2 separate regions of the Homo sapiens genome follow, and region 1 is linked to region 2. Evidence: promoter capture Hi-C in human tissues and cell types (Jung and others, 2019). All regions are on one chromosome and are shown on one strand. The core of a region is centred on a gene start or on the middle of the fragment in contact, and the rest is flanking DNA. Distances in the headings are between cores, read along the strand shown.

Region 1 (3,977 bases), core at 926-3,425, 190 kb after region 2:
CTCGGCTCACTGCAAGCTCCGCCTCCCAGGTTCACGCCATTCTCCTGCCTCAGCCTCCCGAGTAGCTGGGATTACAGGCACCTGCCACTGTGCCCAGCTAATTTTTGTATTTTAAGTAGAGACGGGGTTTCACTGTGTTGGCCAGGCTGGTCTTGAATTCCTGACCTCAGGTGATTCACCCGCCTCAGCCTCCCAAAGTGCTGGGATTACAGGTGTGAGCCACTGCTCCCGGCCTTCTACTAGTCTCAATAAGTCCTCTTTAGAATTCAAATTATAATGCTCAGTTACATTACTAGTAAACTATTTTTAATCTCATTTTTCCAAAAGCTGAATTTTTGCTTTAAATCTATAAACTTTGTTGGTAGATGTTTAAAAAGGTCCAGACTCCACCACAACAGATAATCCAGTAATTATCCTGGGATGTAAAAATATCTGAAAAGATGAGAGGAAGACATTGATATCTGAACTTAAAGTTACAGAGCCTGTTTGGAGAGGCTATGTGACAGACACAACCAGCCCATAATTACCCCTCAATGAGAGGCCTTGAGAAAGAAATATCCTGATATCACTTTTCTCCTCCCTCTGATATAATGATGTGTTGTCATTATTTCTATTATTGTATACCGTTTGAAAGTGACACATTTTCTATCGCCCTTGCTTTGTTGATTGACAGTTCTGACAGTTTCCATGCTGGTTGACAAAACAAGTGATTCTGCAGTTGCATAAAGTTACATCTATTTTACTCCTGTCATTTGTGCTGTGCTTGCTGTACATTTTTACTGCTATATGGGAATTTAAGAAATAATTTTAAAGTGTTTATTATTATTATTAATTTATTTTTTGAAACAGAGTCTCACTCTGTTGCCTACCACACTGCAGCCTCATCCTCCCAGGCTCAAGGGCTCCTCCCACCTCAGCCTTCCAAGTAGCTGGGACTACAGGTGTATGCTACCATGCCCGGCTAATTTTTTTTGTATATTTTTTGTAGAGAAGGGGATTCACTCCATTGCCCAGGCTGGTGTTGAACTCCTGGACTCAAGCGATCTACCCAACTCGTCCTCCCAAAGTGTTGGGACTACAGGGATGAGCCACTGCGCCAGGCCAAATGAAAAAATAATTCATACTATCTTTGTTACCAGTCTTAAAATTTAAAATATACCCCATTTTATTTCATTTTTTTGAAACTTATCCTTTAAAAAATTGGTTTAAAGTCTTATTTTTCTGTTGGGTCTCATGTTCTTGGTAAAGTGGTCGTTAGATCAAGTTTGATGTACACAAATACCATTTATCTGTCTATCCTAGTACATTTGCTGAGCTCCCATCATGAACTTTGAGTCCCTGAGGATCTTGAAGTTAAGAAGGTTCCTGCTCTAGAAAATATGTAAGCTGTATAAACAACAATAACAATGAGGAAGGGCATGAAAATCTAATTTCTGTAACTCAATTCAATTCAGTCGATCTCATAGCCTTATTATCTGGGGAAAAATCAGAACACATAGGCCCTAAATTTAGTCATAAACTTTAGTCTAGATATATTTTCCAGAAGAAAGGGGTAGTCGTGGGGACTTAGCCCCAGAAGCAGCTGTCACTTGCCATTATATCAGACTCTGTTGCATTAAGCTTTCCAAAAATAGAATTCACATCTTCAAATTCCCGTATTCCTTTGGGTATCCCCAACAGACTTTTCCCCCAGTGAACAAACATTATGTTCTTACTTTTGACAATCATTTCAACTGTGATACAGGAATTTGGTTCTAAAAATTCAGGGACAGGATCAGCTCTTTCCAGCCCCTTCTAGCTCTAAATCTTAGGAAACAGTGGGTGCCACTTTTTCCCAATGTGAAGCCACATGGGCTGGGTCCTTTTTCTCCCTCAGATCACAGAAAGTAAAGTAAGCAAATAAGGGAAAAATCAGACTTTAGTTCACTAAAAGTGTTCTTTTTATTTGCCGACATGTTTAGTATTTCTGGTGCTCTTTATTCCTTTGCATATATCTAAGTTTCCCTCTGCTATCACTTCACTTCACTTTGAAAAAACTTGGTTTAACGTTTTCTGTAGTGCAGTCTGCTAGGATGGTTTTAAAAAATGGCTGCACACTCTTTTACATTGTTTCCATTGAGACATTGGGTCTTTGTTCCTTCTTCTTGAATCTGGGTAGACTAGTAGCCTTTGACCTACAGAGTACAGCAAAAATGAAACTCCGTGGCTTCTGAGGCTAGGTCATAAAAGAACATGCAATTTCTGCCTTATTCACTTGAATACTTGCTCTTAGAGCCCTGAACCATGATGTGAGAAGACCCCTATCCTGGAGAGGCTATATTCTGGTCAGCTGAGCAAGCTGAGCCCAGCCTTCTAGTCATTCCTGCCACAATGCCAGATATATGAGTGAAGGTCTCCAGATCCTCCAGACTTCCCATTCAGCAGATAAATACTGCTGATGACCTCCCTTGATACTAAAAGGAGTAAAATGCAAATCAAAACCACAATGAGACACCATCTCACACCAGTCAGAATGGCAATCATTAAAAAGTCAGGAAACAACAGGTGCTGGAGAGGATGTGGAGAAATAGGAACACTTTTACACTGTTGGTGGGACTGTAAACTAGTTCAACCATTGTGGAAGTCAGTGTGGCGATTCCTCAGGGATCTAGAACTAGAAATACCATTTGACCCAGCCATCCCATTACTGGGTATATACCCAAAGGACTATAAATCATGCTGCTATAAAGACACATGCACACGTATGTTTACTGTGGCACTATTCACAATAGCAAAGACTTGGAACCAACCCAAATGTCCAACAATGATAGACTGGATTAAGAAAATGTGGCACATATACACCATGGAATACTATGCAGCCATAAAAAATGATGAGTTCATGTCCTTTGTAGGGACATGGATGAAATTGGAAATCATCATTCTCAGTAAACTATCACAAGGACAAAAAACCAAACACCGCATGTTCTCACTCACAGGTGGGAATTGAAGAATGAGAACACATGGACACAGGAAGGGGAACATCACACTCTGGGGCCTGTTGTGGGGTGGGGGGAGGGGGGAGGGATAGCATTAGGAGATATACCTAATGCTAAATGACGAGTTAATGGGTGCAGCACACCAACATGGCACATGTATACATATGTAACTAACCTGCACATTGTGCACATGTACCCTAAAACTTAAAGTATAATTAAAAAAAAAAGATCACCCAGCTGAAACCTGCCCAAATCTCTCATTCTCTTAATCATGAGATATAATAAAATCATTATTGTTCTAAGCAACTATTTTTTGAAGCCCATTTATACATCATTAGATAAGTAGAACAGAATTTGGGGTGCCATTGTAATAAAAACCTAAAACATGAGCATTGCCTTTCGGACAAGATGTAAGGAAGAACTTGAAAGAGCTTTGAGGAGACTGTTAGTAGAATCCTGACAGGTATTGAGGAGGATGTCAATGAGGGCTTCAAGGAAAGTAAGGAAAATGTTATTGGAAGCGAGAGGAAAGGAGCCCCTTGTCATGTCATGGTAGATGGTTTAGCAAATGTGATAACATAGCAAATAGAAAATGTATTTAATGAACTGCTGTATCTGGCTTAGAGTACCAGGAAGAACTTTGAAAGTATCAACTGTTTTTTGTTTGTTTTTGAACTAGGTATCATAACATCTGGCTAGACAAATCTACACTAAATATTCAATTTTCAAACAGAATTTAGAAGAATTATGTAGGAACTAGATCTGAAAATGAAACTATTTCTTGTTGTTATTTTCTCCCAGCAGAAGATGCTCAAAGTAAGATAGAGCTGCAGGGCAAAGATCAAATCCTAAGGTCTTATTAGAAAAACATGAGTTCAAGGTAGACCTGAGTTCAAGGTAGACCTAAGTCCAAGGATGTGATTGAAAGCCTTTTGTTAAGAGTTCAGAAACAGATAAAAGACCTTGTAAGATTCTGTTAACTTAAATTCATGAGATGTACAA
Region 2 (3,932 bases), core at 1,224-3,723:
ATTTCCAGAGTCCCTTAGATTTTTCCTTTCTGAGCCTTGACAAAAGCTGTTCCCCCAGACTAATAAAAGTCCTCCCTTTTTCAACTCACCAAACCAGTCGATTCCTTTTCACTACATTACACTTTATTATAAAATCATATGATAGGCACAAAGGACACAAGTATAAAATGAAACATAACATAAAGTGAATAGGCAATATATAAAAAATACATTTATCATACCTTTCACTTTTAGTATAATTATGACGTACATTAAGTATTTCAGTGACAATTATGCCATCTTAAAATTTAAAAGGTCTTTTGGAGGATGACTTCAATTACTAACACTTAATTAAAAATGGGACATTTGGGCCGGGCACGGTGGCTCATGCCTGTCATCTCAGCACTTTGGGAGGCCGAGGCAGGCAGATCACCTGAAGTCAGGAGTTCTAGACCAGCCTGGCTAACATGGTGAAACCCCGTTTCTACTAAAAATACAAAAAATTAGGCGTGGTGGCGCGCATCTGTAATCCCAGCTACTGGGGAGGCTGAGGCAGAAGAATGACTTGAACCCGGGAGGCGGAGGTTGCGGTGAGCCAATAGCGCCATTGCACTCCAGCCTGGGCAACGAGAGTGAAATGCCATCTTTTGACCTAATACCTTTTTTTTTTTTTCTGTATGCCTCTTATTCCTGTAGAGGTACTTAAAAATTATACCATTGACTATTCTTTTTCATAAACACAGCAATATATAAAAATCTGAAGTCATCACTAAAGACTGAAAGGAGTTTTGGGTAGAGCAAAACAAGTAGCTTTGCAATAAGCAAATCTCATCCACAAGGCAATCTGGAGATTTGGGATGTAAGAAGAAAAGAGACTATCATAACCACTGGTTTTGGCAGCTGTTTTTAAGGGCTAAGTAGTCACACGCCGACTTTTTAAAGTCTCTACATATTAAACACTGTGTTCCAGAAACTAGATTTTGTATATGTATTTACATAAACGTCTACATCAATCTTCGGCTTTTTGGAAAACGTACCATTTGGCTGGAACTACACTACCTTCTTCCTCCTTCGGCTATTTTTAATTTTTTTTGAAGTCCTATCTTCCATGTAGATTTGTTAAAACATACCACAGAAAACAGCACATACAATTTTTATCATTTGACTTTTAAACATCTTCTTTCTTATTCAATTATAAGCAAGGAAAAATATTCTGAGACTTTACACAAATAGTGTCTCATACCACCTATGAGCCATCTATGCTCAACCCCTACTTCAAAGTTCACAATCTAAGTACTAGTCCTCTTTAACAGAACTCCTTTCCATCACTTTATCCCTACTAGAGAGTGAACAGTGGAAAGTTCCAACTTTTGCAACTCTAGAATGAGGTTATAAATCTAGAGGGAGGAGGAAAACCTGACAGTAGACGCTTGTTCTTTTCACTCCATTCAAGCTCCCATACAGCCTAAAACACTTAAGTTTCAACATGAGCTTCATACGTCCCTGTCCAAAACTTGCTTTCTCAAGCCTCACGCTTTCCAGCTGTAGCAAAGTTTATTTCTGAACAGATTAAATCAGTTGCTAAATAATCTGAAGTCCTCAAACAGAAGGCCATATGAGTATCAAACGAAAAAAACAACATTTGAATCAGCATAAATTCACATGGTATTATGGCATCATTACTAATACACTGAGCAGTATTATTTATTAACTTCAAGTATTAATTAACTTAAAGATGTGATTTTGGAGAAAAACACCAGTGGTGGTCTCTGATTACCAAAGTTAAACATTCTTAAGCACAATCCCTTAAAAAATCCTGCCAGGATCAATGATGTGTTTTTTCTGTTTTAAAGTATCCTGCCAAAAGCTGTGGGTGCTGTGACTTAGGGTCGCAAAAGTGTTGCTTATGTAGTCAGAAGACAGAACGTGCCCTACAAGGCGCTCACATGCCTTAGTAATAGAACGTATATTATCTTCCCAATCCTCTGGCGGCTGCAAATGTGCTCCTTCCACTTCCAGCCACCCCAGCCGTGTTCCAGCTCCGGGAGAAGCAAGGGCTTTAGAATTACCCCCAAATATCTTCCTAAATCCAGGCGAAGGAGGCCCACACTTCTCCACCCTACCTAACGCACCCCTCAAGTGAAACGTTTGGTCTAAGAAAAAAATACCTTGCACCGCTCCACCCAACAGGTGGGAAGGAGAAAGGAATGGACAGCTGAGCGCTGAATCCGAGCCAGGCCTCAAACAGGGCGGGAGAGGGAGGCCGCGGCCAGAGCGCGGCCTGAAACCCGGCAGGCCCCTTTCAGTACCAAGTACCACCCTCTGCCCCAGCTAATTTCAAGGAGCCCGCCCCAGCAGACCTTATGATGGATGCCACTTGATGCCATGAGCCGGAGCCTGTGACGACCTAGCCGAAGATGGCACTTCACCGCCTCCGTCCCCACAGCCAGCACAGCAGCCGCCACCCGCGCCACGGCCGCCTGGTCCAGGGCACGATGCGCATGCGTCAGTGTCCCTGGAGGCGAAAAAGTCACGTGGGTTCGCAGCGCGCAGGCCTGGCCCTCCCAGGGATCCTCGCTGCCCGTGCGGCCCCAGCCCCGCCCCCGCAGCCCCGCCCCGCCCCGCCGCGAGCGAGGGCGGGGACCGCTGCGCCTACCTGCCTTTCCCTCCATAGGGACTTCCCAAAGGAAAGGAGGGCGTTTAGGGGCTTTCACACGCCTGATCTTAAACACAGCGCCCTGACCCCTCCCCACCAAAAACGGCAAAATGTCATTTTTGGGGGCAAATCTAAGGTTTTCCCTACAATTGTTCAAGCTTTCACACTAAAACATTTACCTAAAAACGGGCAGAAATTCAGCCTTAAACCCACAAATCTCACGATGGTATAGACCCTGGGCCCACTCAGGTTTCCTGAAAACTAAACAGTTCTGGAGTTAGGGGTTTGGAGAACGGGCTATTGTTAAAGAAAAAAGTATTTAGTGACACTTGTTAAAGCACAAAAAGAGGGCTTTATTCAGGACCATCGCAACAGGTATAGGGACCACTGACTGCAATGGAGACTTGCAGTAGGGAAAGAGATATTGGGCTCAACTCCTCATACAGCATGGGCAAGTGGAGATTTATAGCCAAGGAGCGGTGGTAAGTGAATGTATAATTACTAAGAGGAAACATCAGGGTAAGGGGGATTTTGGCTAAACCCACCTAATAGGATTTTTGCTGAAGACAGGCCAAGATAATGAGGCATCACCTGGGGGATGGTGGAGACTGAAGAACCTGATCAGATATTGAGGATGATCAGCTATCAAGGATGGGGGTTTATTGCTAATCTGACTTAGCAAAGTTCTTTGCTTAAACTGGATTTTACAAAGAAAGTGTACAGAAGAGCCTAGCAGAAGATTCAGAAACCTGACTAAAGTTGGCCAAGCAAAAAAAAAAATCTTTGTATCTGAAGGGATATGTTATCCTCTGGACAAATTGAGGGGGACTGTGCGTTAACAATCTTAGCAGTCCTCTTCAGTTGTACCACCATCTCCACTTTAATAAAAAAAAATTTTCTTTCAAATCTGGCCTCTCTCCCTTTAAGATTCTGTTACATTGGTGCCCCCGCATTCACCTGTCACTTACCATGTAATCTGTTGTTCCAGGTGCATTAGTATTACTACTGGGCTCCAAGTTCCTCATCTGAAATCTGTCTCCTCTGGAAATACTTATTTACAAGACGACGTTTCTTGTCACAACGCAGGTTAATCATAAATCCTCTCACCAGCACCTTTCGTTCGAAATACCAAATTCAGTCTTTTTTCCTACCTTTTACTTGCATCACACTGCACCTAGTAGTAGCTTTCCCTTTCCATTTGCCTCTTCTACTTTCCAAGCTAACTTTTTTGGATTCTCTGACAGTGTGGCCATGTTTTTTGTTTGTTTGTTTCACAGGTTTAAACAGCAGCTTTTAA

Evidence for each region. Contacts are between HindIII fragments. The study calls those that stand out against the background at their distance.
Region 1: a contact is called between a fragment that was not itself captured here and the fragment with the promoter of PRPF39 in region 2, in 1 of the 25 tissues and cell types used here (dorsolateral prefrontal cortex).

Annotation. Positions count from the first base shown.
Region 1 is chr14:44,890,417-44,894,393 of GRCh38, reverse strand. No RefSeq gene overlaps it. Among named protein-coding and RNA genes, the nearest start is that of DORIP1, 4.9 kb to the left of the region's middle. The HindIII fragment of the contact is 5,271 bases long and covers 1-3,977 here.
Region 2 is chr14:45,082,657-45,086,588 of GRCh38, reverse strand. It overlaps PRPF39 (pre-mRNA processing factor 39), which reads right to left and starts at 2,473. Exons shown (of 14, transcript NM_017922.4): 1 at 2,340-2,473. It overlaps PRPF39-DT (PRPF39 divergent transcript), which reads left to right and starts at 2,563. Exons shown (of 2, transcript NR_184211.1): 1 at 2,563-3,117; 2 at 3,202-3,541. RefSeq lists a silencer at 2,479-2,768. The HindIII fragment of the contact is 8,045 bases long and covers 1-3,932 here.